Regions from separate parts of the Homo sapiens genome. Here all the other regions are linked to region 1. The links are contacts of gene promoters, found by promoter capture Hi-C in blood cells and fetal thymus (Javierre and others, 2016). All regions are on one chromosome and are shown on one strand. Each heading gives the region's core, a stretch centred on a gene start or on the middle of the fragment in contact. The rest is flanking DNA. Distances are from core to core; before and after follow the strand shown. Region 1 holds the start of SLC20A1 (solute carrier family 20 member 1). Region 2 has its middle 27 kb from the start of IL37. Region 3 has its middle 11 kb from the start of IL37. Region 4 has its middle 13 kb from the start of IL36A. Region 5 overlaps FBLN7 (fibulin 7).

Evidence for each region. Contacts are between HindIII fragments. The CHiCAGO score rates a contact against its expected background, and 5 or more counts as called.
Region 2: a fragment that was not itself captured here is called in contact with the fragment with the promoter of SLC20A1 in region 1 in 2 of 17 cell types (M0 macrophages and M2 macrophages); the score reaches 6.5 in M0 macrophages.
Region 3: a fragment that was not itself captured here is called in contact with the fragment with the promoter of SLC20A1 in region 1 in 4 of 17 cell types (M0 macrophages, M1 macrophages, M2 macrophages and 1 more); the score reaches 8.2 in M0 macrophages.
Region 4: a fragment that was not itself captured here is called in contact with the fragment with the promoter of SLC20A1 in region 1 in 3 of 17 cell types (naive CD8 T cells, naive CD4 T cells and non-activated CD4 T cells); the score reaches 5.9 in naive CD8 T cells.
Region 5: a contact is called between a fragment that was not itself captured here and the fragment with the promoter of SLC20A1 in region 1, in 1 of 17 cell types (naive CD4 T cells). The highest score is 6.0, in naive CD4 T cells.

The regions. Positions count from the first base shown.
Region 1 is chr2:112,644,505-112,647,204 of GRCh38, forward strand. SLC20A1 (solute carrier family 20 member 1) reads left to right here and starts at 1,435. Exons shown (of 11, transcript NM_005415.5): 1 at 1,435-1,625; 2 at 2,059-2,658. The coding sequence starts at 2,325. RefSeq lists silencers at 1,097-1,926, 2,388-2,682. The HindIII fragment of the contact is 3,268 bases long and covers 406-2,700 here.
Region 2 is chr2:112,936,569-112,939,268 of GRCh38, forward strand. No RefSeq gene overlaps it. Among named protein-coding and RNA genes, the nearest start is that of IL37, 27 kb to the left of the region's middle. The HindIII fragment of the contact is 3,789 bases long and covers 1-2,700 here.
Region 3 is chr2:112,920,674-112,923,373 of GRCh38, forward strand. No RefSeq gene overlaps it. Among named protein-coding and RNA genes, the nearest start is that of IL37, 11 kb to the left of the region's middle. The HindIII fragment of the contact is 6,002 bases long and covers 1-2,700 here.
Region 4 is chr2:112,991,478-112,994,177 of GRCh38, forward strand. No RefSeq gene overlaps it. Among named protein-coding and RNA genes, the nearest start is that of IL36A, 13 kb to the right of the region's middle. The HindIII fragment of the contact is 626 bases long and covers 1,032-1,657 here.
Region 5 is chr2:112,153,051-112,155,750 of GRCh38, forward strand. The region is part of intron 1 of FBLN7 (fibulin 7); the gene reads left to right. Among named protein-coding and RNA genes, the nearest start is that of FBLN7, 16 kb to the left of the region's middle. The HindIII fragment of the contact is 1,595 bases long and covers 504-2,098 here.

The DNA.
Region 1 (2,700 bases), core at 185-2,684:
GACCGACCTTGGGACCTACAGCTTTGTAAGTTACTCATACAACTCCATCAAATGTTACAGGTAGGTCAGAGGACATTCAGGTTGTTTAAGCCTCTATAAATGACTCAGGCAGCAACAATTTACAACGTCTTTGTTTCTGCTATGCAGTGCCCTCCTGCTAGAGATGGCAAAAATGTGGGGAGGGCTTCAGAGCATTCTAAGCCTGGTATTTCTGGCTGGAATTTTTAAATCTCACTACAATCCTGACAAGAGACCACGACCTTAATCTCCCACGGCATGACTGGTTAGTCTTGATCGTAAGCCATATAATCAACACCCAAATGTGCATAACACATCTAAATAATGTCAAAACTACACTATATACCACGCAGGGGACCAGAAATCAATCTTTACCTCAAAAGGATAAGCTTCCAGGATGCAATAACATCCCCTTCCACCCTTTTCTACACCCTAAAACAGTAATATTCACGGTAACAGCAAAGCGGAAATCAGCTTTTCCTGAACATGTACTGAATTCTAGTCACATTCACACACGTTAATTCATTTAATTCCAGCCACAAGGTAGGCAGCCTCTGTTAACATTTTACAATTGTGAGAACGCAGAGATCTGGGACTGGCTCAAGGTGACACACTGCAGCAAGGAGTCAGAATTTGAATCCGAAGCAGTGTCCTTCCCCCTCGCAACAGCTGCGGCGTTACAAACACAGGTCAGCCACGGAGAAATTAATGACCCACAGCCATCCTTGCAGCTCTGCGCCATAACTGGGGAGACAAGCTGGTTCCCGTGACTCTTCAGTCTGTTTTCACCCAAGTGCATGACTGCGGGAGCAAAGCGACCACGTGAGCATCCCCCCCCCACCCCCCCGCTTCCCCCAGGCGAGGGACAGTGCCAGGCCAAGGACAAGTCACAGGTGCAACAACGTGCCAGAACTGGATCCGGAGCCCCAGGGCGCAAGATCTCCCGCAGCGTCACCCGGCAGAGGGACGGGTGTGGCCACCGGGCGCGGCAGGTCCTGCGTGCGCTGAAAGTGCGGCTGGAGGCGCGGACGGCTTTCCGGAGCCCCGAGAGAGGAGCTAGGAATGACTTTGGTCGCAGCCTCTGTAACCCCGCATGACGGCCTCTAGGGGGACAGCGAGGTCCCCCTCGATCTCTGGCTGTAATCAGCCGGCGGGGCCAGACGGTGCCGAGACTCCAGGGCGAGGCCGCAGGGAGGGGGCTGTCCCGCCCCACGTGGACCGGCTCCCCGCTGGGGGCGTGGCCGCCGAAGCGGGCCGGGCCAATGAGCGCCACCGTCGGGCTCACCCGGCTGGGCACGCCGGGCCGAGGAGGGCTGCGTCATGCCGGGGGCGGGGCTTCGGGGCCGGCGCGAGGCGCGGCGGGGTCACGCGGGTCGCTGCGCGGGCTATAAGTAGGGGCCGGCGGGGTGCTCCGCTGGAGTGATGGCTGCCGGCGCTCTCTGCGTGGTTCTTCTTCTCGGCCGCTGAAACCCCCGCGGCTGCTTCCTGGGAAGGTCGTGAGTCCCGCTGAGCTGTCCCCGGTGCCGCCGACCCGGGCCGTGTGCCCGTGGCTCCAGCCGCTGTCGCCTCGATCTCCTCGTCTCCCGCTCCGCCCTCCCTTTTCCCTGGTGAGTAGTGGCGCCGCCTCGTAAAGGCTCTTTCTTCTCCCCGGGGCCGGGCGCGGACGCCGTGGCGCTGGAGGCGGACGCCGTGGGCGGCGCGGCTGGCTTCTCTCTTCGCCGCTGGCCGCCTCCACTCCGCCCGTCTGCCCGCCCGCGGGCCTTTTTGGCGGTCCCCGGGCGGCGCGCGCGGGAACGGCCCTTTTCCGATTTTCGCGCGGAGGGCGCGCGCGGGCTGGCAGCGCAGGGGCTGGGCTGGGCGCGCGCGGGCCGCGGAGGACCCGGAGCCACGTGCCTCTCCTTCTCGCGCGTCCTACTGGGGATGGGGGTCTGGAGTAGCCGGCAGAGGCTATTGCGGGACCCCGGGCGCGTGGGTAGAGCGGGGTGCCCCACTGGCCCCCCAGGGGCACGCAGCTATTGTTATTTCCCCCCTCCCCCGCAGGATGAACTTGCGTCCTTTCTCTTCTCCGCCATGGAATTCTGCTCCGTGCTTTTAGCCCTCCTGAGCCAAAGAAACCCCAGACAACAGATGCCCATACGCAGCGTATAGCAGTAACTCCCCAGCTCGGTTTCTGTGCCGTAGTTTACAGTATTTAATTTTATATAATATATATTATTTATTATAGCATTTTTGATACCTCATATTCTGTTTACACATCTTGAAAGGCGCTCAGTAGTTCTCTTACTAAACAACCACTACTCCAGAGAATGGCAACGCTGATTACCAGTACTACAGCTGCTACCGCCGCTTCTGGTCCTTTGGTGGACTACCTATGGATGCTCATCCTGGGCTTCATTATTGCATTTGTCTTGGCATTCTCCGTGGGAGCCAATGATGTAGCAAATTCTTTTGGTACAGCTGTGGGCTCAGGTGTAGTGACCCTGAAGCAAGCCTGCATCCTAGCTAGCATCTTTGAAACAGTGGGCTCTGTCTTACTGGGGGCCAAAGTGAGCGAAACCATCCGGAAGGGCTTGATTGACGTGGAGATGTACAACTCGACTCAAGGGCTGCTGATGGCCGGCTCAGTCAGTGCTATGTTTGGTAAGTTCTTTTTATGTTTTGTCCTCTTCGTGGTGGGTGAGC
Region 2 (2,700 bases), core at 166-2,665, 290 kb after region 1:
ATTAAAGGCATGAGTCACCGCGCTCGACCACGAGTGCTGTTTTCAGCTACTGTTTTGGGATGGTTAGAAATGCAACAGTAGATAGCAGAGATATTTTGATTTTTGTAATTTTTTGCTGTAACCGTCTTCTACTACATTAAATTATCTAAAACATGTGAAGGAGGTAGAAAAAGATGAGGTGGCTGCACATCCACTTCTACAACAAGGTGACCACAGAAAGTAGCCATGAGTGAGAGGGAAGGGGCAAAGACTAGGTTAAGTCAGGGAGTGAAGTTGGGCTCAGGGAAGACTTCTGCTCTTTTTCATTCTTCTTAACAATCAGGGAGTCCAGGCAGAAGTGGCCTGTCCCATCTCTTCTTCCAGGTGCTCATTTAGACTCAGTTAACATCTCTCCCCACCTCCTCCCTGTACCCCTCTTCTTTAACACACGAAGGACCTTCTGGAGACTTCTCTCAACTAAGCCCCACCAAGGGCTTACTTCTGTCTATGGCCCCTTGGCTACTTGATGATTTCATGTTCTTTATTTTTTTTGGGCAAATATTCCTTAATGTTTTTAATTTTTAATTTGTTAGGATCATTATGTTTCATAATGCCAAAAACAGATGGTCAACTTAGGGAAAAAACGTATAAAGCACTTAGGAACATATGTAACAATGAGTACTATGATGCATATTGACTGAGCACATAATACATGTTAGGTACTCTCTCTCTCTCTGTGTATTGCACTTAACTCTTACAACAACCCCAGCACACAGATAAAGGAACAGGGGCTTTGAGGCTGAGCAAATTGCCCAAGGTCCCATGGCTGATAAGTGGGAGAGAGGCTGTAGTTTTCTGTCCCAAAGGCCATGGTCCTAACTATTATACTATGCATCATCTTAAGCACTATGAATGTTTAATGTCTGTCCTTCCTGTCTTTTATGTGTGTGTATTTATAAATATAGAGGCATGCATGGAAAAATTCATTTATAACCTATTTTTGTCACTAACAGTATATCTCCAATGCCTTTCTGTCACAAGATAGCCTTCTACAGATCATTTTTAACAGCTGCATGACGTTCTATTGAATGTGTAATGATATGCAGAAAACCTCATGCTCTTTTCAGCCATTACAGGAGTTTTTAGTAAGGGGAGACCCACCTTTGTTAGGAGAACTTCTTGTTAGTCTTCCCTGGGGATTGGGACTCCTCAAATTGTACCAAAATAACAAAATATGGTCATTAAAATGTGTTTGAAAGAGTTTGTCCTGTTTATTATCCTGGCCTTTGTTTTGGTGAAGTCTGATGTAGGTAAGGAATAAAGATTGGGCAGGAGTGGGGGAGGAGGGCTGAGTAAAATAGTTTTCAATAAGGAGGGATGAGACTGGAGCTAGTCAAGTTTTGGTTGGAAGTAAGGAGTGGGTGATGGAGGAAGGAGGAGCAAGGGAGGGAGAGGAGAAGAGAAAGGAGGGGAAGGGAGAAGAAGCCATCCAGGATCTAGTGGTTTCCTGACTAGACTGAGGCATGGAAAAAAGGGACAAGTGACTGATGGGGTCATAAGTTGTTTTCTGTGGGGCTACACTGTAAACCCTCTCCACTTCTCCTACAAGTCTCCAGCATCTTCTATATTGCTAAGATGTATTTGAGTCCAAGAGGTCCCTCTTTGGCATGGGAAGTTCGAAGGTGAGGAAAGAGGACAGCTTCCATGTGGGTTATATATGGACGTGCTGCAATTCATTGAAGAGATTTCATATTGTTGGACATTAGGTACACCCTGTAAGCTCAGCAGTGAGGTGAATATTTCTTTAGAATATAGCCTCTAAAGAGGATTCTAGGTTAAAGAGTAGGCACAGGACAAGGCTTTTAGTATATTTGAAAACTTTAGAAATGGAAATGTTTTTGGGGGGCGAGTTGTCTTAATATTTCATTTTTCTAGCTTGTGTGACATCCTTTTGAAAGCAGCAATTCTGGCCTTTGTGAGAGATGGTGAATGCCTGCAGGTATGTGGACCAGTGCGTCCCTTCCTTCCTACATGCACGGCCCCAGCTGGGCCCAGCAGAGTGCTGTTACAGAATAATTTCCAAGGGCTGTGTCTCTAACCTTTGGTCTTGTCCCCCATTGCTGTAGATTTGGCCAATTGACTTCATAAGTGCCTCTTATGAACATAGATGTTGGCAATGGAAGTTGAGGACCAGTCAGTGGTTGTTTTATTGAACACACAGCGTAAATCCCAACACAATGCTGACCTAAGAGAATTCCAGCCACTCTGATTCTCAGTCTCTTTATATCTGAAAGGGTTCTGTTCCACTTTTTCCCAGATCAAAATGTCCCTGCAGCTACTCAGCAGAGCTGTCGCAACTTATACGTAGAAGAGGTAACAGTCCACAAACAGAAAGGCACAGGACGAGAGTGGTCTGGGTGATGCTTCCTGTGGGGGAAAAGGTGATGAGGGTGCATCTGCACACCTATGTTCATAGGTAAGTCTGGGAGGAGGTGACCTCCCCTTTGGTTGAGGTGCTGAGGCGTCTTGTTAGAATGGCACTATTCCATTTATCTGATGCAGTCTGTGGGAATTTTGTGGTATGGCCACCACAGGTACCATGCTGGGAACAATGCCAGATACTGCCTGCTAAGCCACAGCATGAGTCACATGAGCATTTGTGGGCTTTGGGAACTAAAGTTATTGAACGATAGTTATCTGAAAAGGAATTTAGGGAAAGGG
Region 3 (2,700 bases), core at 28-2,527, 280 kb after region 1:
CATTACACATTCCGTGCATGTAATGAGTACTTGCATGTATGCCATAAATATGTGAAATATTATGTATCACTATATAAAAGAAAAAAAAATGTGGCCAGGTGACATCCATATTTTGGAGAGGAAGGCATGTCTTCTTCATAATATCACAAAACTATTTTCACAACAAAGACACAGCTGTTCAAATTAGTCTCTGAGCCGGGGCTGTCTCATGGCAGTGAGGACTCTGGTTCCCTTACAGACTAGCAGAAAGGAGATGGGGCTTACTGACCATGGCCTTGAGGAGGCCGAACATGCAGGCCAAATGGAGACACAGACAGCCTGGGCTTGGTCCTGCTCCATCCCCTTCCAACCTGATGAGATATAGTGAGTCACTATGACATGGGTCACTCATGCTTCCTGTGAGGCTCCACCAAGACAGCAAGTGCATCAACACCTTACGGAAGCACAAGGCCCTGTTTGTTGTTGACTTCATGAAAGGCATGGTTGTGGTGATCGCATTGAGTAGGCTTTTGGGTGAGAGGTGAAAAACCCCAACTATCATGCATTGCAGCCCTCTGGTGGAAACTGTGCTTCAGGCTCTAAATTTCAGGCTCTAGACTGACTCCGGGATGAGTATTTGGAAGCTGAAGTCAATCTGTGGTCTCTTCTCCTGTAGAGCAGGAGTCAGCACTTTTCATAGAGTGCCAGATTCTATATATCCTGCCACATGCTCTGTTGTTACAGAACAAAGAAGGCCATAGACAGCATGGCTGTGTTGGCAAATACACAAAACAGGCAATAAGCTGTATTTGGCCTTTAGGCTGCAGTTTGCCAACCCCTGCACTAACACAGAGCTTAAAGGTGGTGGTGGTGTGCTGGAGCTAGCTTATATCAGCTTGCAATAGCCAATTGCTAACATCTCTTCCAAACTCTGTGTCTGTGCCTTGATGTTGATAGTTTGAAATTGGCTACCCCATTTAATGCTGCAATCTTTTCTCACCCCAGCACTACTGACTCCCCTTTGCCCTGTCTTATTTTTCTCACTCTAACATGCTGTATAGTTTTCTTCTTACATTTATTGTTTGTGTCTTCCACTAGCATGTATGTCCCACAAGTTCTTTGCTCTGTGATGTATCCCAAGAACCCACTGCAGTGCTTGGCACTTGTAGGAACTCCATAAGATTTTTATAAATGAAGAAAGGAAGAAAAAAGAGAGGGAGGGAGAAAGGAAAGGAAGCCTTCTATTTAAATGATGGCCTTCTCCATATTTCTATAGTAATATGACTTCCCTTGCAAAGGAGATGCATTTTGGAAAATGTGTATAAATAAACTCAGGTGGTTTTGAATTTCATTTTCCTAACTGTAATTGTAATCATTGGTCTTTATGTTTAGTGAAAAAGTTTTGGCCCTTATGCCTCACACCTGAGAATCCCAAAGTATTGGTTTGTTAGAGCTCCCATAGAGAACCATAAACTGGGTGGCTTAAAACAACAGAAATGTATCGTCTCCTGGTTCAGGAGGCCAAAGTCTGAACTCCAGGTGTTGGTTCATTCTGAGAGCTCTGAGAGAGAATCTGTTCCAGGCCTCCCTTCAGTTTGTGGTAGCTCCAGGGTTCCTTGGCTGGTGGCAGCAAAACTCCAGTCTCTGCCCCCATCTTCACATGACTGTCTTCTCTCTGTGTTTCTGTGTCCAGATTGTCCTATAAGGACAGAGTCATACTGAATTAGGGCTCACTCGAATGACTTCATCTTAAGTTGAACTGTATCTGTAAAGACCTTATTTCCAAGTAAGGTCACATTCACAGCTACTGGGGGATAGGACCTCAACATATCTTTTTGGGGGACATAATTCAACTCATAATACCCAACATGATAACTGTTCATCCCATGAAATTTAATGTCTCTCAAAAGGTGATCTCAGGGCATTTAATCTGTGACAGAAACTCCCATAGGAAACATTCCAACCAGAAGCTCCTTTCACAGCTGGTCACTCCTCCTACCCCATCCGAGGTCCTGGGGCAGGGTGAGGCAGGTGGGGACAAGAAGAAGGCTGTCTCGGGTGTAGAAAGAGAAGACCCTTATTCACCCGGCACTCTGTTCATGAATGAGCTATCCAGCATAGGATATAATAAATCGCTTTAGGAGTGGTAGACTCCAAACATTTTTTTGGTCCCAGTTATCCTAATCAATTAAACAAACTCTAGAACACATCTTGAAGTGCAGGCATTGGGACATTATGAAACTTACACAGAATTCAAAAATTTACAAGGGCTAAATAAAACAGGGTCTGACATCTAATATTTTCTTCCCACATTCCCATGCACTGTCTGGCTCAACCATCCCCAACCCTCACTCTCATCCTGGTGGACACATGCCTAGTGATGTGATCAGCTGGTTCACAGGGGGCTGGTGATGGTGGATATACAGCTTTTGCCAATTTCCATGGCATAACTACTCCAAATATGGCCAATTTCAAACTACCAACATGAAGGCACAGACACAGAGTTTGGAAGAGATGTTAGCAATTGGCTATTGCAAGCTGATATAAGCTAGCTCCAGCACAGCACCACCGCTACCTTTAAGCTCCTTGTGTTAGTGCAAGGGTTGGCAAACTGCAGCCTAAAGGCCAAATACAGCTTATTGCCTGTTTTGTGTATTTGCCAACACAGCCATGCTGTCTATGGCCTTCTTTGTTCTGTAACAACAGAGCATGTGGCAGGAT
Region 4 (2,700 bases), core at 95-2,594, 350 kb after region 1:
TTCAAGGTAATTATTGATTGTAAGAACTTACTCCTGCCATTTTGTTACATGTTTTCTAGTTGTTTTGTGGATCCTTTTTTGCTTTCTGTCTCTCTTACTATCTTCCTTTGTGGCTAATTTTCTTTAGTCGTATGTTTTGATTCCTAATTATTATTTTTAGTGCATAGGTTTTTGCTTTGTGGTTACCATGAGACTTACAAAGACTTTTTATGGTTGTAACAGGTTATTTAAAACTGATGACAACTTAAATTTGATTGCAAAAATTTCTACTTTTTAATTTAACTCCTCTCTCAACATTTTGAATTTTTGATGTCACAGCTTATATCTTTTTATGTTGCATATTCTTTAAGAACTTGTTATAGTTATTATTTATAATAGTTTTGTCTTTTAACCTTTTATACTAAAGATATAAGTGATTTACATACCACCATTATGTTAATAGAGTATTCAGAGTTTGACTATGTACCTACTTTTACCAACGAGTTATATTCTTTCAGATGTTTTCGTGTTACTCATTTGCATCTTTTTTTTCATCTTGCAGAACTCCCTTTAGCATTTCTTGTAAGACAGGTTTGGTGGCGATGAATTCCCTCAGTTTTTGTGTGTCTGAAAAGTCTTTATCTCTCCATCATTTTTGAAAGACAGCTTTGCTGACTAGAATATTCTTGGTTGGCACGTTTTTTTCCTTCAGCATTTTAAAATTCCATTTTCTCCTGGCCTATGAGGTTTCTGTTGAGAAGTTTGCTGTTGGGCATATAGAGACCATTATATGTTATTTGCTTCTTTTCCCTTGCTACTTTCAGGATACTCTTTTTGTCTTTGACAGTTTGATGATTATATGTTGTGGAGTAGTCTTGTTTGGGTTGAGTTTGATTAGAGATCTTTGACCTTCCTGTACTTGGATATTTATATCTTTCTCCAGGTTTGGAAAGTTTTCCATTGTTATTCCATTCCTTTCTCTTTCTTTACTCCCTCTTGAGTACCAGTAACCCATACATTTGCTCTTTTGATGTTACTCCATAAGTTTTATAAGCTTTCTTCATTTATTTTTATTCCCTTTTCTCCACTGACTGTATATTTTGAATTACCCTGTCTTTGAATTCACAGATTCTTTTCCTCTTGTTGTTCAGTTCTACTGTGGATGGTCTCATTGTATTTTTAATTTTTTTTTTCTCAGCTCCAGAATTTCTATTTGAGTTTTTGAAAGTTATTTCATTATCTCTGTTAAATTTCTCTGACCAAATTTTGAATTGTTTTTTGGTATGTTCTTGAAGTTTGCTGAGCTTCCTTAAAACAGGTATCTTGAATTCCTTGTCAGGCAGTTCTTCCATCTCCATTTCTTCAGGGTCAGTCACTGGCACCTTATTTTGTCTGCTTGGTGAAGTGAACATTCCCTGATTTATTGTGATTCTTGTAGCCATTTGTAGATGTCCATGCATTGATGTAAGTACCTAATCTAGTCTTTGCAATCTGGCTTTGTTGGGGAGCTTCCTTTAGCAGTAAGCCTGTCCAGAGATTCAGAGAAGTTTGACTGGGGAGGTCCCTAAGCCTGTGACCATTTCAGCAATTGCAGCACTAGGAGCTGCTCTAAGTCCAGGATCACAATGGCCAGAATCCTTTGGCAGCAGAGGCTGAGGTAGCACTGGGTCACATCCAAAGCTTAGAGTCTCTGAGACCAGCACAGCACTACATAGGGCATGCTCAACACCATGGCCACTATGGCCTGCCCACTGCTGGCAGTGACTTGTACCAAACTGAAGTCCATCTCACTGGTGCCACAGGTTCCTCTCTGGTGCTGGGGTAGATCTAGAGGCTTCATCTACAGGTATAAGTCTGGTGGTAGGGATCAAGTTGTTTGCCCTGTGGTGGGTTTTACTGTGGCAGGCATGGTACTGAGTTCCAAGGTGAAGTCTTACTCTTAATTCCTTTTTCTTTCCCCAAGAGATAATGTCTCTCTCTATACTGCACTGCCTGGGGTTAGGGAAGGGGTGATGTGGGTAATGTAAAACTGTCCTTCCTATTCTCTTCAATGTATCTGTTATTATTATGATGCTAAAATCAAGTACTGTGATCTCTCACCTGGTTTCCTTTGCTCTTGTGATTTTTTTTGTGCATGAATAGTTGATCAAATTGATGTTTCTGTGTGGGATGATTAATGCAAAGTCCTACTTTCCTCCTTCCTCTGCCACTCTCCTCTAAAGTTTTCTTCCTCAATTGAATATAATGTTGGCATTGCAGTTTTATAAAAATCAACACTAAAATAAGTGTTAAAGTTAATTAATTCTGGAATATCCAATAGAAGAATTAGTCATTGGATATTCACTCATATATCCATGCTATGCTAATAAATAGTGGCAGGTTGTTACATCTGCCAATTTATATTATTAATTAAAAGCTGATGACACATTAGCTTGTGACATGATTATGGTTGTAAGTGTTACAGCATCTCCATCCTGCTACAGGCTGTGTGATGATTTGGTATTCCCACCTCTTTTCTCTACTGTGAAAAACTTTGTTTGTTCAGTCACTGATACCTTGGACTTTCACTTGGCACAAATGTGAGCTCAAACAAAAGCTCAAATATGAGTCCTGACATCATGTGGCTGGACTCAAGGGTAAGGTGTTCATTCTGGTGATACAGAAGAGGCTATGATGACAGAGTATAACCAAAATGAAAACACCAATTTATAATAATCTCAT
Region 5 (2,700 bases), core at 51-2,550, 490 kb before region 1:
CTCTCACTTCCTCCAGAAGCACCCACTTTCTCTCCTCATATATGTGGGTGCTGAGCAGAGGTCTCTGGCATGAAGAGTAGTCGAGGATTTATAACCCGCCTCTGGCTCAGTTGAAAAATAAAAATAAGTTCTGTAGAGAGCACATTCACGAATTCGACATGACTCAGACGCTGAAGACTCCGAGCCTTGGCCAGCAGGCTCACATTTGGTAAGTTGCTCGGTCCTTTCAGAGACCTAAGGCATCAAAACATCTGTGTTCCCATTAACAAAATGCTGACGTGACGCATAGCTGTGGCTTGGGAGAAACCAGCGTGGGAGACGGCCCCTCCAAGTCTAGGGGTCATCCGTGGCCATCGGAGGTCTTGGAGCTCTATTGTCACCAAAGAGGCTCTCAAAAGGTGTCACTGTACCAAGACTGTCACTGTGAGGAAGACCATCGAGCCAGGTTACAGGAGAACAGAAGCCCCAGGGACCAGTCCCCATGTTTCCGTACATACTCCTGAAGCTTCTCTGTACCCTCTGTTGCCTTCAGAGCAGGTTCGGAGTGAGCCCAAACAGCATGGGGGCCTGGATGGGATGAGAGGGGTCAGGCCTGCTGGCAGGGGACCGGGTGAGCCGGGGGACACACACCCATCTTTGGCTGTGTCCACCCTTGGACCAGGAGGTAGGGTCTGGGGGTACGAAATGTCTCTGGAGGCCCAGCCATCCTGCAAGTGGTAGTTGGTTCTCAGAGGAAGGGAGCCTGGTGATCTCTGAGGAATCTTCCGTGGACCCGCCGGAGTAAACACTGTGCGAGAAGGGGCTGGAGGGGAGATGGACAAGAATTCCCGGAGAAGGGCAGGGGTGGATGGAGCGTTCCATGGGCCTTCTTGCTTCCAAGAGCCTTAAAACCAGCTCCTCCCCTCGCCCAGCTCTCAGCACTGGTCTGCGTCTTCCAGAACCATCCATGCCACCTCTACTCCAGCTTGGAAAAACCTGGATGGGGTGACATCTGTTGTTCCTTCTCTAACTGGTTCTCTGCAAACATTGCCATTGGTGTCAAGTTAGATGAAGTACTCACCCCTTTAAAGAGTTTCATAACAGAAACGGTAAACCTTGATATTTTTCTACTCAAAGATGGAAGGTTTCACTGCATGTCTCCTCTTAGTTCCATTTCAAAGAAGTTATTAATTCAAAGAAATGGAAACTATTCGTCATTATTTATTGTCAATGACATAAGTTGGGCCACGACTGGTTTTGAAGGGATGAAAATTTATACCATTTGAGGGGATCTCTCTAAGAAAAAGATTTAAAACGGGGCGCCTCAAGAGCCCTGGAAGAGGCCTGGGAAAGTGAGGACCCAGACATGGCAGCTTCCTCAGCTTCGAGGGGACGGCCTCTGGAACACGCTCTGTCCTTCCTGGTGTGCAGGGGCCTCCCCTTGCTGCCCTGTCTGGATCTGACCTTCACCCACTCCCACCTTGGAGAGTGGGAGGTCAGCTTCGAGGGCTGTGCGGAGCCTGGGGTTGCTTTTCACTGTTGGGACCTGGAACCCTGAGATGGGAAAGCCTCACCCAAAAGCCAGCCCTTCACTGAGCAGCAGGTGGACAGCCCTTGAGGGTCCGGCCGGCTTCCTGTCCATCCCATAGCCCCTCACAGCACCCTTGGCCTGACCTCAGCAAGGACCACATGTGCATGGAAGGAAATGGCCTGCTTCCATGCATGGCTCAGAGCAGGGGAGGGTGGTGGGTTTGGGAGGGGAATGGCAGACAACTGTGGCTGTGGGCAAGGAGCCCCCTGCCCAGACTGAAAAGAGTGCATTGAGGAATGAGAATTGAGACTCAGAGACAGGCCGGTTGCTCTGCTCGTTAACATGAAAATGATGCCACAGCCAGTGTTGAGGGGAAAGAGCTGACATAGAGCCTGCATCCTGTGGGGCTGCATGGTGACGTCTGTGCAAGGGAGCACCTGTGTCTAACCCAAGACTTGAAACCCAACGAAAAGTTAACAGTGGTTGTCTCTGGTTGTGGGACTTGTTCTTTGTTTGAATGCATTTTTCTGTATTTTGAATTGTTTTGCAGAGATTATGCTTTCTTTTTATGATCAAGCAAAATGATAAAGCTTTCTCAGCTTGGAAAAAGGGGGCACTGGGGTCTCAGGCCCCTCACATGACCTCATTTGTCCCCATAATGTGGGTCTCATGGGTGCATGTCTTGGTATGTAAGGATTCCAGCTTCATCATCTAGCTTTGCAAAGGAGCTCGGTGATGCCTGTGCCTATACCAACTCAGGTGACAGATGAGCATGGCATCCAGGACCTGCCCTGTTAGGAGCAGCTGCAGCTCAGACCCTCAAACCTCATGTCAAAGGCACGGATACTCTCTGCTTCTCGGGCTCCCTGGCCCCAGCCCCGGCATGCTGGCTTGCCGAGAGCAGCAAGATGCTTCCTTGTACCACGCTCTGTTTCATCAGCCTCACCCCAGAGAGGTTGGAGGCTGGGATGGGCCACAGCCTCCTCACCTTCCCTCGGCAAGTCAGCCTGGAGCCTTCCTGTCTCCCTCCCCGCCTGGGACGGAGATGCAGCCTTGGTTTGCTTGGTCTTGAAGATGTTTAAGGTTTTTCCGTGGTAACTGGCAAGCTGGGCACATCTCACCCTCAATGAGCACCGGGGAGAAAGCAGCTGGCGCCTGTTGCCCACGGAGCAGGAAGTGGCACCGGAAGC